Regions from separate parts of the Homo sapiens genome. Here regions 1, 2 and 3 are each linked to region 4. The links are contacts of gene promoters, found by promoter capture Hi-C in blood cells and fetal thymus (Javierre and others, 2016). All regions are on one chromosome and are shown on one strand. Each heading gives the region's core, a stretch centred on a gene start or on the middle of the fragment in contact. The rest is flanking DNA. Distances are from core to core; before and after follow the strand shown. Region 1 holds the start of NHEJ1 (non-homologous end joining factor 1). Region 2 holds the start of TTLL4 (tubulin tyrosine ligase like 4). Region 3 holds the start of ZNF142 (zinc finger protein 142). Region 4 holds the start of SMARCAL1 (SNF2 related chromatin remodeling annealing helicase 1).

Region 1 (3,775 bases), core at 214-2,713, 2.7 Mb before region 4:
GCAGACTGGGGAGTGGCCAGGAAGCCATCCCTCCCTGGGATGGGCAATAGCCTGACAAACCTCTCTTTTGCAGGCACACAGCTTGAGCGAGGCCTAGGTCAAGGGCTACCATCTCCTTTCACTGCCCAAGAGGCTCGAATGCCTCAGAAGCCCAGGGAGAAGGCTGCTCAAGTGTACAGACTTCCTTTCCCCATCCAAAACCTCTGTCCCTGCATCCCCCAGCCTCTCCACTGCCTCTGCCCACTGCCTGAAGACCCTGGGGATGAGGAAGGAGGCTCCTCTGAGCCAGAAGAGATGGCAGACTTGCTGCCTGGCTCAGGGGAGCCATGCCCTGAATCTAGCAGAGAAGGGTTTAGGTCCCAGAAATGACCAGAACGCCTACTTCTGCCCTGGTTAATTTAGCCCTAACTCTCATCTGCTGGAGAGTCAGCTCCCAAACTGTTCTTTCTTGTAGGCAGAGGATATGTGTGTGTGTATTACATGGGACTGTCTAGAGGTTCCATTTCCCAATAGGGTGGGTTGCCTTTCCTTGTCTTAATTAGGCCTAACTGTTCCAGAGCAGAGGCCATGATTTAGTGGACCATGAATGATTGAGATTTTGCCTGTGTACTATCAATGCCACTTGAACCCCAGCATTCACTTTAATACTTACTGAGCATCTCCCATGTGCAAGGTCCTGGAACTACAGGGATAAGACAGGGTCCATGCCGTCTCAAGGCATTTACGGTTTAAAAAGACCTTTGTAATTACTAACGAAAATGCAAAGCAGAAAGCAGTCTGTAATAAAGATTAAAATAATGCCGTGGGAGCAAAGAGGAAGGGATAATGAATTCTGATTGGGGACAGTGGGAAAGGCTTTATGCAAGAAGCAATGAGGATGGCCTTGACAAATGAGGATTTTTGGTTTTGGAAAATGGATGCAGAGAAGTTTTCAGGTTCGGGGTCCAGCTTGAGCAAAGCCATGGGTTGTACAAAGTCCAAGATAGGTGAGGGGTTTCAAATTTCTCAGTAGTGAGGGAGTATAAGTACGGGGATGATGGAGAAATGAAGCAGGAGAGGTAAAGGATGAGGTCGGACTATGGGACTTATGCCTGGGAGACTCCTTCCTTCAACAACTCTAGTGCTGGTGGAGGACCTGAGAGATCATCTACAGAAGTTCAATCCCTTATTTTGTTAAAAAGAGACCGGATAGGTAGGGGAGGGAAGAGAAGTGACTCAAGTTTGACAAATCCAAACCTGGGCTCCCCTCTCCTGCGCCTCGCCCGCTATTCTTTCCACTCGGCCAGCGTGACTCCAAGACGCGCCACTACCCTTCTACTAGCCGGCTGCCCGGCCTCTCCTCCACTTACCCTGGCCACTGGGGCGCTCCTCTCATCAGTGTCCCAGGCCCAGAAGCCCCGCCCACGCCAGGCATAGGCCCCGCCCCTGTATCCCAAGACCCTGCCTCCTCTTGCGGTGGGGGGAAAGCGGCCTCTTACTCTAGGCCTTTCGGTTTGCGCGAGCGGGCAGGAAAGCGTGCGTGCGGCTAAGAGAGTGGGCGCTCTCGCGGCCGCTGACGGTAGGTGGAATCGCGTTCGAGTCCGGGCAGGAGCAAGCCAGCGAGGGGCTGCTCAGACGCTGCGGGTTGGCCCTGGCGCTGGCCTTTTCTCCCTGGAGGGAGCGCGCGCTGCCGGGGTCCAGGGCAGGCCTCCGGGGGAGGGGTGGGCGGGGCCGCGCGTGCGCAGTCCGCTGGCTGCTGCCCGGCGTGGATGGTAGGGCTCGAGTGAAGGTACTCGTTGGTCGCCTGTTTGGTGCGACGAAGCCGCTGGTGGCCGGCTTTGTTGCCCCTTGAAGCCGCGCCCCAGTGCAGCCAGTGCTGTAGAAATGGGAAGGCGGACAGCGAAGGCTGTTATAGCTGGGGCGGGTGGAAGCGGGACGCCTGGCGGCTCCTGGGGTGGGGCTATGGTTGTGGTGGGACCTAGGGTTCGCGCTGTCCCAGGGGGACCGGGCGGGGCCCAGCCGGGATGCTCTCTGGGCCTCTACTGCCCTCTGCAGGGCGTCGGAGGAACTGCCCAGAGGGGTCACTGCTGAGGAGCGGACTCGGTGCAGATAAAGGTTCTCAAGGGACCCCTCCGCCGGGATGCCGCTCAGCGCCCCTCCACTCAAGAGAAATAAACCCGTGAATCTCGTTAATGTGAATGTTAGAGGCAGCCTTGAAGGAAAAAAGAAAAGGATGAAGTGTAGAAGCTTCGGACGCAGAACGGGACGCGTGTGGTGGGAGCAGGCAGCCGGGGTCTGGTGCCCAATGTGTCAGGCCTTTTTATAGGGCCCGTTACTCCTGGCCACATTTTAAACTCCTCCCCCTTTACCCAACAGACAAACAAAACCCATCAATTTGAGGGTTCTGAGCTTCCGGGCTTTCCGAAGGAATGGGCTAGAATAGTAAACCCAATTTTGGCAACTGTTAAGAGTACACTGGGGAGTGCCTATAAGGGAGATGAAAGTGGCGACTTTATTCGCGTTTGTGACCTTTGGCATTGTGGAGCTCTTGTCCGGCTAGGACTAGCTTAATCATCCCATGACCACTTCTGTCCCCATAAGAGCAGCATGTGGGAAATGTGACGGAAACACCATCCTCCAAACACAAGGCTTTGAGGATGCCATAAAGAAAGATCACCACGTATATGTATATATATGCATATATATATATGCATATATATATGCATATATATATGCATATATATATGCATATATATATATGCATATATATATGCATATATATATAAAGTTATGTCACAAGTCACAAGGGCACACTTCAAAAGCTAGGGGAAATGACTGTGTTAATCAGACTTAATAAGGAATTTCATTATTTACATTCTAAATTTTTCCTTCCTGGTACTTCTGTTCATTTTATATTTGTAGACTGGAATAATGAAGGAAATTGACATATTTTTTTCTCCCCCACAGGAAAAACAATCACATTCTCTGTCAAGCAGCCGTAGTTCTGATTGTCTACTAGGTTAAGCCTACTACTTTAGCTGCTGAGATAGAAAAGTTGTTTTGCAGGGGTTCCAGGCTGGGCATGTTGTCATTGGTGGCAGTGCACTGGAGTGGGAATGTGGAGGATGAGTTAAGTGGAAGTTAATTCAGTCTTTACCTCTGTGATGTGCTCTGCCTTGTATTCATGATTTCCTAGTCATTCTGGTTTTTGTTGAAATGAAATTTAGGTCTTTTCTGTTGCTCCTGGACACAGGTTCTTAGCTCTTTTTTGTGTCATCGATCCCTGAGAGTTTGATGATAGCTGTAGACCTCTTCCCCCTCCCCATGCATATATGCGTGTACACATAACATTTTCATATAATTCTAGAGGATTCACATGCATTGACTCTAGATTAAGAACCTGTTTTAGGGATTTTTAAAAAAATCCTGAGAGCTTCCTAAACTTTGTTTTTAGATAATGATCAAATACTTCGAATTTCCTGGCCCTGACACTATGACTTATGATGTTTTATAAGACAAGAACTATTCCTTCTCTTCTAGTTCTGGGAAAGGATAGGAGTGACATATTTATTAGGAATGTGATAAAGATGGAACAAGAAGGGTTTAGGTTTCCACGTTATGTTATAGTATTAGAAAGCAGAAATACTAACAGCAATATGCTGAGGTTTAAACACTATGGAAGAAAGATTTTCTGTCCTCTAGGAATGTAATATGGGAAAAAAAAAACCCTCAAGATTTTAAATATACTTTTAGTGGCCAGGAGGTAGTAAAGTCAGTGCTCAGCTGGTTGTATACT
Region 2 (3,641 bases), core at 1,135-3,634, 2.3 Mb before region 4:
TTGTAGAGAAGAGGTTTCGCCATGTTGCCCAGGCTGGTCTCGAATTCCTGGGTCTCAAGCGATCAGCCTGCCTCAGGCTCCCAAAGTGTTGGATTTACAGGTGTGAGCCACAACACCCAGTCTTAAAATAGGTATTAACTATCTTACTGAGTAACACACACCTGAACTAAAAGAAATCTCTTTAAAAATTTTACGCAAGTTTTATCCAAATAACTTAAAAATTCCATTGTCCCAAAAGACATTCCCGTTACATTTAACTGTTGTGTTCTTTTCAGAATATCTTAACAAAGAATACAGTTTACACGAATGGGATTGTGTATTGGCAAGCCTTCTGGGTTGGGAGGTAACTTAAATCACTAAAGGAGGTGTTCCTGAAAATAAATATTTCCAAAGTAGTCCTTATTTGTATCTGAGGACATTTTTACACTCAGGCCAATACACCATATTAAAATTTGGGAAGTGTGAGGGATTTGCCACACACAGCCTCCTACCCTTTTTTTGTAAGGGAAGTTTTAGAAAAAGAGTTCATTGGGGCCGGGCGCGGTGGCTCACACCTGTAATCCCAACATTTTGGGAGGCCGAGGCGGGTGAATCACGAGGTCAGGAGTTTGAGACCAGCCTGGCCAAGATGGTGAAACCCCGTCTCTACTAAAAAATACAAAAAATTAACCGAGCGTGGCAGCATGCGCCTCTAATCCCAGCTACTCCGGAGAATGAGGTAGGAGAATCGCTTGAACCCAGGAGGTGGAAGTTGCAGTGAGCCAAGATCGTGCCATTGCACTCCAGCCTGGGTGACGGAGCAAGACTCTGTCTCAAAAAAAAAAAAAAAAGTTCACTGGGAAGCTGAGGATCTGGAAATGTATTCATGTTAAGCTAGACGTGCAAGTGTATCCCTTGGAAGTCTACAACCCTGATTACTCCAGCTTGAAAACCACTGCTCCAGGGATATAGTTCTAACTCAGCAAAACATCCAAGGCCCTTTGTGATCTAACCCCTATTAACTTCACTCTTTCTATTTGTTACTGGATGGCTCCCTCCAAATCTAGCCCAGGTCTGTCAAACTGTTTCCAGTTCTCTTTTCAGGACTTGCTGTCCCTTTCCTAAAGCCACTGTGTATCTGGAATGTCCTCCCACCTCTCTATTCGCAGAAAACACTTGATAATTTTTCAAGGATTGATTCAGTCCAATATAAGTAGCTGCTAACTTTCTGAGCACAAAGTGGGTGGTTTAAATGCAAACAGTGTCTCAGTATTCAGTGCAAGAAACAGAAGGATGGGATGGAACACTGTCCCAAAGGGTCCCCCAAATGCTAAATCAACAGGTGCTGCAGTTAAAGAATAGGTGATTTGTAGTATCTGAGAAAGCAAAGAAGATTTCATCAAGGAAGGATTAAAATATTTCCGAGATCCAGAATGGGAATGTGAAGACCAGGAGGAATGGCAATAATGTCGTTTTCTAAGTAAGTCCGGATTAAGTATTTCCTGTTCTATCACAGCACACACCACAGTATGGCAAATGCTCGTTTACTTGATTAATAATCTCCTAGACTGTAAATTCCGTGAAAACATGCTTGTCCTATTAGCCACTCTATCCCCTCAATCCCTCCCATTGTACCCAGGCTCATTAAATATTTGTCAATGTTTACTAAAAATTGTTTAGTGAATGATTAAATAAAGGAATTGATGAATGAAGAATTAAATTCCACAGGATCTCAGATCCTGTTTGAATCTGTGGAGTTTAGGAACGTATTCTTCTACAGATACTGAGGATGGAGAAGTGAAAAAGCAGATATCCATGTTAAATTCGGCCCTGGAGCCTGCGAGGAGCTTGGGCTCACACCCAGAGGGAATTTAAACCTCAGCGCGGCAGGACAGAGGAAGCTCGGAGGCCATAACTAGGGGATGAGGCAGTGTTCGGGCACCCGGAGGCGAGGCCGACTAAGTTCGCGGGGCGTGGCGGAGAGGAGAAGGGCTCCGAGGAGGCGCGAAGTCCCGGCCGGGTAGGAGGCCGCGGCTCCCTGGCCTCCCGGGGGATGAGAGGTGGCGGGAGGAAGCGGGGCTAGGGTGAGAGTGGCCGGAGGGCTGGGGACCCGCGCGAAAGGACTCAGGTAGAGGGAGGTCGGGAGCGTGGGACCGGCGGAGTGTCTGGGGTCGGCTCCCCTGGCTCCGCAGCCGCACTCACCTAGGGGATCCAGCTTCGCCCCGGCTCGGCACCGGCTCCACGCTACTTCCTCCCTCGGCCTGCTGGGCTACCCGGCAGCCTCAGGCGCCCCTAGCAACCACGCACCGCCACGCGTGACAAGCGCACTCGGCCGCCAGCGCCGCTGCCGCCTGCCACACACCGCGCGCGCCCCCAGCGGACAGACCGAGAGTCTGGAAGAAGAGGGCGGGAGGCAAGCGCGGGGAATCTCGGGGGTTCTGGGGCCTGTAGGGGCGGGTCGTCACCTGACTCGCGCACGCGCAGTCCCTTCAGTGCGGTGGGATCCGGCGAGCGGAATTCTGGGAGATGTAGTCCCGTGGTTAAAGCTCTGAAAGGCTCCATTCGGAGCATCCAGGACTCTCTCTTTCTACTCTAATTCCACCTACTCCCTATGGACTGTTTTCTTTTTTAGAGACAGAATCTCGCTCTGTCGCCCAGGCTGGAGTGCAGCGACGTGATCATAGCTCACTGCGAACTTGAACTCCTGCTCAAGCGATCCGCCCGCCCCCAGCCTTCCGAGTAGCTGGGACTACAGGCACGCCACCATGCTGGGCTATTTTTAAATTTTTTTTCTCAGGACAGGGTCTCACTATGTTACCCAGACTGGTCTTAAACTCTTGGCCTCAAGTGATCCTCCTGCATCAGCCTCCTGGTCGCTGGGATTACAACGGGAGCCCCCACGCCTGGCCTGGACTCTTTGGCCTTGCCTCAATTGAAAATCAAAGGGCCCAGGCTCAGTTGAAGGATTTCTAGAAAAAGCCTTTGAGTTTGACCGCAGGAAAGGGGAGATTGCCCGATTCACTCTGCCTCCCTCTAACCCATCCTTCCCTAACCCCAACCCACCCAGCGGGGCAAAATTAAAACCACCTGCCTGCTTTATGGGCTTCAAGTGTGAACGTTAGGAAATACTGACTCAATTCCTTATCTCGTTAGCTCCCCAGGCAAGCCAGATCGCGCTCCTGCCTCAGATGTCCGTAGACCTGAGAGATTTGGAGATCTAAGAAAGCTGGAAGATGAAAGGATCTTTCCTAGGCAATTGGCTACAGAAATAAAGGGGACAAAGATAAAACTAATCTGATGAAAACAGTCTGGACCAGAGGAAGGATCTCAATAAATAACTTATTTAGTCAACAGTCGTTGATGGATGCTAAAAGTATTAGATAATTTATGGGAGAATTTTACACTGAAGGATGTACACTGAAGATAACCTACATGTACTAATCAATCTTAGATCACGAAACATGGGACAGCTGAGCATTGTTTCTTGATGTGATGCAATTGAACAGAAATATTTATGAAGTATAGCGTATTTTTGTAAAAAAAAAAGTTGAGTGACTCTAATCAAGTTTTGGCTGTAATTTCCAGTTAACAAGAAATAAAGAGAAACAACTGTATAACACTACAAGAAAGCAATCAAACAAATCCAGAATGTGAGCCAATGT
Region 3 (3,560 bases), core at 1-2,500, 2.2 Mb before region 4:
CCACAGGTCAGCATTACTGTGTGGGTCAATACCCTCCTTTTGTGGGGTAAGGGTGGTATTGGAATGCAAGGGTGGAGGCTCCAGGTCCCTCATCCCATTTTGTCCTTCATTAGTCTACTCATACCTGTTTCCTACCAGAGGACCATGTCTGGAGATGCCTTAAACCAAAAAGAGCTATATAAACAGGCTTCACATCAGGGTAATGGATGGACAGGATTTTTGTGGTCCCTGGGACCAGCTATGATAAAAAGGGGTCCATTGGCTGCAGTCAGCAAGGGAGAAGCGTCCGTTGACTTGTCAGTAACCCTATGTCTTGTTATGAGTAATGTCCTTCAAATATCCTCCCCCTTACGTCCCCAATATTTAACGTCTTGTTTAGACCTTTATTACCTCCCACCTAAACTGTCTTTAAAATCGTAGTTCTTGAAATGGCATTTTAATAGGTCTTCACCTCCTGCTTCACGGAACATCTACACAAGGGTCCAGATCTTTCATCATAGGGATCAGCTCCAATACCATATCTCTCTCTGCTCCAGCACCTTCAATGGCTGGCTCCCAGCAGACCCCTGAATTGGGTATAAACTCAGCCTGGTACTCAAGGCTCTCTACAATACGGCGCCCACCTACCTTTCATGGATTAGCTCCTAACACTACCTGTTTAGCAAATATGCAAATACGCAACAAATATGTTCAACAAGTAAGCAACCTCCCAACTCCTTGCTCATGCAGTGCTCTTGGCTCGGAATGCCCGTTCTTTTCTCCCTCATTCTCCCCAAATGAAAATCTGCCCATCTGCTACTTTCTCCACGGATCGTCACATCGTAGACAATAAGATCCTGAGGGACAAGAGCAAAGTTGTTTCTAGTACACCTCTCCTCCAACCCCGAACCCCGGCCACTTTGCCCTGCGCCTGGCATGCAGGGAGGTGAGCTGACAGCAGTGACCTCGGCTGAGCCTCAGAACTGGGATCCAGAATTCCAAAACACCTATGCATGGAAGGCCACAGACAAAGCTCTCCCGTCCCCGGCCCCTCCGCGACACCCAGGAACCCCCTCCTGAACCTCGCCCACACCCCAGCTCGCGCCTCCAGCCACATGGTTTGGGGTAACCCGTCACTCAGCCCTCTCACCGCCGTGACTCTCTGGCCCTCCGTCTCGATGGTTTCACCGCGCCTGCACCTTGGGGAAGCTGCGTTCGGCCCCGCCCCGGGTCCTTTCATCTACTTCCCGCCACACCCACAGAGAAGCCCACGCCACTCTACCCCAGAGCTCTCGATGGTGCTTCTCCGGCTTCAGGGCTGGAGTGGGGGTGGAGGGCGGGAAAAACCACAGAGACAAAACATAGAGTACCCCGGCAGCCGGCAAGAGGAAGAGAGAGTGGCTTCCACATCCCCAATATCCTAGAGGCGGCTGAGCCGGAGGCGGTCGCACAAAGCGGGCCCCGGGGGCCGTTCCAGCCGCGGCCGACCATAGAGATGCGGCTCCCGCCGGCTCTGGGTCTGGAGGTGAGTGAGCGGCTGCGGGGCGGAACTGGGAAGGGAATGCGGGTGGAGCGAGCTGGAGGCAAAGTTTTTCGAGCCCCGGGATCAGGGTGGGCCTGGGCGCTGGGAACTCTCGGAAGGAGGTACTGAAGGGAGCACCCAGACGAGCTGGGCCCCGGCGCTGCAGTCGCGTCACGGTTCTGGACCCCGCCCGGGTACCTGCTGCTCTCAGGACAAAATCATGACGATGCTCCATCCCAAGCCTTCCAGGTTACAAACCGCCTTTCCAGTTCGCTGGCTCTTATGATCCAGCTCCTGCCCGACGATGTGGACACTGTCATCACCTCCATTTTACAGATAGGAAAGCTGAGGCCCAGAGAAGCGAAGCGACTGTGTCTGTCCAAGACCACGCGGTGAGTCAGAGCCAGAGGCAGGTGGGAACCTGGGTCGCTAGGCCGGGGCCCGTTGTTTCTCCAGGCCTTCTCTCTGCCTTAGTCTGTCCTTTCTCTTCCTCAGCCCTCCTGCCCGGAAGATAAGCGTATTTCTTCTCTGGTGCCCACCTGTCTCCTACCTCACCCTGCCCTCCCGCAGGTGAAGGTTCTTAATCTTGACGGCTCAGCGTCCTCCTTGGCTCCCCCCGGAGGCCATGTATGGTCAAGCTTGAAGATTCCCCAGAACAGCGATAATATTCAGTAAGTGGAGGCTGCAGTTTCCAGAGAATCCCTCTGACCACGGGAGTGCACTTTCCAGCCACCTTGTGAATCCCTGTGATCTGTTGTTTTGAGTCCATGGGATTCTGGAAATAGGGACTATCAGATTGCAGGATCTTGGTTTTTGTTTGTTTTTTTTTTGAGACGGAGTTTCGCTCTTGTTGCCCAAGCTGGGGTGCAATGGTGCGATCTCGGCTCACTGCAACCTCCGCCTCCCGGGTTCCAGCGATTCTCCTGCCTCAGCCTCCCGAGTAGCTGGGATTACAGGCGTGTGCCACCACACCCTGCTGATTTTTTGTATTTTTAGTAGAAACAGGGTTTCACAATGTTCGCCAGGCTGGTCTCGAACTTCTGACCTCAGGTGATCGGCCCGCCTTGGCCTCCCAAAGTGCTGGGATTACAGGCCTGAGCCACCGCGCCCGGCCTGGTTTCTTCTTCTTTTTTTCTTTTTGCATCTTGTCTGTGACTCAATTTCATGAAGTGATTCCCATCATTCTTATTAATTACTAATTATTCAGCTTAAACTCATTTTAGCCATGTATAACAGGGTATGCAATTCAATTGTCATTCATTCCTCAGTTATGTTCCCATATTTAGTTTGAGGCCATAGTCAGTTAATGAGTTTGAAATTTCTCCAAATGTGTTACGTTATAGGTGAGGAACCACTGGTTTTGTACAAGATACCTAGCTTTACTCCAATGCAGCTCCATATCTGTGGTTCTTCACTGGAATCTTCGATTGTGGGTGATTTGTGTTCGTTGAAGTGATAATGTCAGTATCACAAAGTAATATCATTGAAGTGATAATGTCAACAAATTACTAAAAAAGCTATACATCTAGGGAGAGAGACTGACAGGTAAACAACAGTGCAGTGTGACCTCGTTTCTGATAGGGCTGTGTACAGAGTGCCCTTAGGACGCCAGAAGAGAGAAGATAAGAGTTTCGGGAAGCCAGGCCCGGCGCGGTGCCTCACGCCTGTAATCCCAGCACTTTGGGAGGCCGAGGCAGGTGGATCACCTGAGTTCTGGAGTTCAAGACCAGCCCAACCAACATGGAGAAACCCCATCTCTACTAAAAATACAAAATAGTAGCCAGGCGTGGTGGTACATGCCTGTAATCCCAGCTACTCAGGAGGCTGAGGCAGGAGAATCGCTTGAACCCAGGAGGCAGAGGTTGTAGTGAGCTGAGATCGTGCCACTGCCCTCCAGCCTAGGTGACAGACTAAGACTGTCTCAAAAAAAAGAATGTCAGGAGGCCTTCATGGTGGAAGTGACATTTGTGCAGCTTCTTCAAGGATAGTTAATTGGTTAGCCAGATAAGAGAGAGAGATTGAGAAGGGGAAAAGGCATATCAAGCCAAGAGACGCAAAA
Region 4 (3,513 bases), core at 647-3,146:
TTTGAGACCAGCCTGGCCAACATGGTGAAACCCCATCTCTACTAAAAATACAAAATTAGCCAGGCGTGGTGGTGCACGCCTGTAATCCCAGCTACTTGGGAGGCTGAGGCAGGAGAATTGCTTGAACCTGGGAGGCAGAGGTTGCAGTAAGCCAAGATCGTGCCACCGCACTCCAGCCTGGGCAACAAGAACAAAACTCTCAAAGAAAAAAAAAAAAGCAAAAAGCAAATCCAAAGCTAAAAAGGCATTTCAGAGGCAATATTTCTCTCCTTCTCACATGGTAACTCACATGGTAACTCAATGGTTCGAAGCACTGCCAAAATGGTGAGTAACTCTTCTGATAACTCACATGGCCCAGCCAAGGTGAGTTATCAGAACCTAAGAAAGTTATGCATTGCAACGTAAATCCATCAGATAATGAGAAAGGTGACATTTTTAACCAGAAAGCATAATAGATTAGACTGAAATAGACCAACCAACCACATACCATGGCGTGACACTTGCTAACATAGTCTTTTTCCAACCTAGAAGAAGGAAAAAAGCATTAGCCTCCCATAGCCTGCACACTGAATTCTCCCCTCACATTCACCCCTTTTTATCATTCCTGGCAAATCAGTCTGCCTGTGGCTCAGTGCAAGCCAGAGCAGCTGGCCTTAGGACCTGACTTCCAACACAACACACGGAGCAACTGACTGACTCTCCTGGGAAAATAAGGAGCAGAAAAAAAAAAATTATGTGTTCACTGTGCAAATTAAGATGCTACATAAAGATGTAAACAAAAAAGAATAAAATTACTCTGTAATCTTACCAGCCATCAATAACCACAGTTGAAATTAATAATTTAGAGTATATAGTTCGGATTTTTTTTCATCCATAACAAAATGGCACATATTTAGGAGATATAAGAATTTATTATAAAGTAGGATCATTGTAAACATTCCATATTGCACCCTGATTATTTTTTTCCATGAATTTACCCGGAACATTTATTTTCCTATGAGCTGAGACATGTTTACAATATTTTAGAAGCAGCGGGCAGGACACACCAATTTGTCTGGCTTGGTTCAGACTAAATAGGCTGCATCTAATGTAATGCTGTGTAACGGTTACAATGATGATGTAGGGGTACTCCAGTAGCATTGCTTAGGCCTCTGGGCAGCTATAGGGTTCAAAGCCTTCCTTCCCTGCTGGGGCTCCCTTTGGCCAGAACCCAACCCCCCTCCCCCCTCCCCCACCACGAAGTATCTATCCCCAGAGAACTTCCACCTTCTCCAACCATTAGCAGTTAGGAAGGGGTGAAGAGGTTAGGAAAAGGTTTTGGAGGTGCACAGCAGAAGCCCTCAGTCTCTCTGGGTAACACACTCCTGCCTAAGTTTCCAACCAGGGATCTCCTGCACCTCCAAACTCCCCAGATCCCAGGCCTGGTAAGCTGTCTCCACTAACCAGAGAGACTCGGCCATAAGACCCACTGATCAGCCCCAAACCATAAATCCATTCCGCCACATGGACGCCCCTCTTCCCCTCTAGGCAGGGACCTCTGCCCCCCGCCCCCCACGCCCCGCATTTCGGGGCGAGCCTCACCCAGCCTCAAGGTAAGCGGGCGCCACGCCCCACTCCCACCCCTACGATCTCCACTTGGATTCACCCTTCCCATTGGCCCACTTCCTCCTCCAGGCTGGCATTGGTCTCGTCCGCCTCCGCCGCCTTCCTGCCAGTCTACCACTTTCTCACCCAGGGAGGCCTAGAACGCGAGCCACATTCGCCCCCGGCCCTGACCCCAGGCGCGACTGCAGAGCCTCCCGAGCGGGACCGGTCTTCCGAGTGGACGGTTAGGCCACGGGTATTCAAGCGCTGCGAGTTCGCCAGCCTTATTGTAGCGGCCAGGCCTGAAGGGCTAGGCCACCGCTGAACTACATTTCCCAGCAGGCAACGCGGCCGCAGTTTCGCTTCCAAAAGTAAGAATGATGAGACGAGAACGCGAGCGGGGCTGCAGTGTCTTCTGGGATTTGTAGTTCGGGCCGGGAGCCTGGCGAGAAACGGGAGCTGCAACGTCATGGGCGGGGCGAAAGTGGTGCACCCTGGAAGTTGTAGTTCTCCAGAGGTTTAGCCAAACACTAGGTCCTGAAAGCCTAGGACGTTGAGGTTTCCAAACCCGGAGTCGGCTGTCTCCAGAGGACATCCCAGACAGCCATACTAACTTGGCAGCTCTTAATAAAAAGTATCTCCCCGGGGCATCCATTCCTGGTATTGCTATACTTGCCATTTAAGCCCCACCCGCTGCGCCCGGCTGCCATCATCGTCATCATTGTAGTCATCAGTCATTGTGTTTAGCATAAATATGAGTTACCTCATTTAACCGCACTACAACCTATGGAACACATTCTTGTCCCCCTTTTACAGAGGGGGAAACTAAGACAGCTATTTGATAATATTTCTCAAGGCTTTATTAAGCTAGCTTGTGATTCTGATTCCATAGCCCCTCCTCTTGAGAGAAGATTAGTCATGAGACTTAAAGAGTCACTTTACCCCATCCTGAGCACCAACATCCTGAGCCATCCTGAGCACCATTGGTGATAAATATAACATTTCTCTATCAGTGTGCATATGAATGTTGCTATTGTTCTATTTTCAAACATGGCTCATTTAAAAACAAACAAGTCTACTAAAGGATTTGAAAAAATGGACCAGACATGCTAAGAAAAAGGAAGCACAGCAATGTGTGTAGTTTGATTTTTTTTTTTTTCATCCTTACCTGTACATGTATGTAAACTCATAAAGGTCTGGGAAGGAAACTTAAAAAGTCACCAAACTGTTCAGGAGCAGAGTGGCATGAAATACACTTTTCAGCTTTTTAATCTCTATTTTTCAGAATGATTTGAATTTTCTAAAATAATAATGTAGAATTTGTGTGACTTTTGAAACAATAAATAATCTCCCTTCTTCCTTCCTTCCTTTTTTTTTTTTTTTTTTTTTTTTTTTTTTTTTTTGAGACAGAGTCTCACTCTGTTGCCTAGACTGAGTGTGGTGGTGTAATCTTGGCTCACTTCAGCCTCTGACTCCTGGGTTCAAATGATTCTCCTGCCTCAGCCTCCCAAATAGCTGGGATTATGGGTGCATGCCGCCATGCCTGGCTGATTTTAGTAATTTTAGTAGAGACAGAGTTTTACCATGTTGGCCAGGCTGGTCTCAAACTCCTGACCTCAAGTGATCCACCTGCCTCAGCCTCCCAAAGTGCTGGGATTACAGGTGTGAGCCACTGCGCCCAGCCCATTTGTCTTAAATGACAAAGACATTGCCTGTCTTAGGGGATCTGTGTGAGGTTTAGTAGTAGAAAGTATTCAAATCTCAGCTCTACCCCTTTTATTGACCTGACATACCCAGTGATTGTGCCTCCATTTTCTCATCTGTAAAGTAAATGTAGAAAACAATACCACCTTGGTAAATCTTGTTATTAGAATCAAAGCAAGGTATTATGAGGGGAAGTGCTTAGTGAACTGTGAAATCCCAGAACAG

The links. The method cuts DNA at HindIII sites, captures the fragments that hold promoters and counts their contacts. A CHiCAGO score of 5 or more calls a contact.
Region 1: the fragment with the promoter of NHEJ1 here is called in contact with the fragment with the promoter of SMARCAL1 in region 4 in 1 of 17 cell types (neutrophils); the score reaches 7.6 in neutrophils.
Region 2: the fragment with the promoter of TTLL4 here is called in contact with the fragment with the promoter of SMARCAL1 in region 4 in 1 of 17 cell types (neutrophils); the score reaches 7.5 in neutrophils.
Region 3: the fragment with the promoter of ZNF142 here is called in contact with the fragment with the promoter of SMARCAL1 in region 4 in 1 of 17 cell types (neutrophils); the score reaches 6.3 in neutrophils.

What each region holds. Positions count from the first base shown.
Region 1 is chr2:219,158,503-219,162,277 of GRCh38, reverse strand. It overlaps NHEJ1 (non-homologous end joining factor 1), which reads left to right and starts at 1,463. Exons shown (of 8, transcript NM_024782.3): 1 at 1,463-1,558. SLC23A3 (solute carrier family 23 member 3) reads left to right here. Exons shown (of 12, transcript NM_001144889.2): 12 at 74-813. The coding sequence ends at 369. RefSeq lists a silencer at 1,679-1,798. The HindIII fragment of the contact is 12,472 bases long and covers 1-2,228 here.
Region 2 is chr2:218,709,578-218,713,218 of GRCh38, reverse strand. It overlaps TTLL4 (tubulin tyrosine ligase like 4), which reads right to left and starts at 2,384. Exons shown (of 20, transcript NM_014640.5): 1 at 2,182-2,384. It overlaps LOC124907983 (a long non-coding RNA gene), which reads left to right and starts at 1,735. Exons shown (of 2, transcript XR_007088089.1): 1 at 1,735-1,999; 2 at 3,133-3,617. RefSeq lists silencers at 1,993-2,042, 2,053-2,102 and an enhancer at 2,483-2,582. The HindIII fragment of the contact is 11,438 bases long and covers 1-3,641 here.
Region 3 is chr2:218,657,313-218,660,872 of GRCh38, reverse strand. It overlaps ZNF142 (zinc finger protein 142), which reads left to right and starts at 1,250. Exons shown (of 11, transcript NM_001379659.1): 1 at 1,250-1,504; 2 at 1,743-1,893; 3 at 1,997-2,172. It overlaps BCS1L (BCS1 ubiquinol-cytochrome c reductase complex chaperone), which reads right to left and starts at 1,190. Exons shown (of 8, transcript NM_001079866.2): 1 at 1,130-1,190. RefSeq lists enhancers at 1,067-1,196, 2,007-2,126. The HindIII fragment of the contact is 10,571 bases long and covers 1-2,141 here.
Region 4 is chr2:216,410,867-216,414,379 of GRCh38, reverse strand. It overlaps SMARCAL1 (SNF2 related chromatin remodeling annealing helicase 1), which reads right to left and starts at 1,896. Exons shown (of 18, transcript NM_014140.4): 1 at 1,732-1,896; 2 at 488-524. It overlaps SMARCAL1-AS1 (SMARCAL1 antisense RNA 1), which reads left to right and starts at 1,880. Exons shown (of 5, transcript XR_001739881.1): 1 at 1,880-1,955. RefSeq lists enhancers at 1,787-1,876, 2,007-2,096, 1,840-2,134. The HindIII fragment of the contact is 8,553 bases long and covers 1-3,513 here.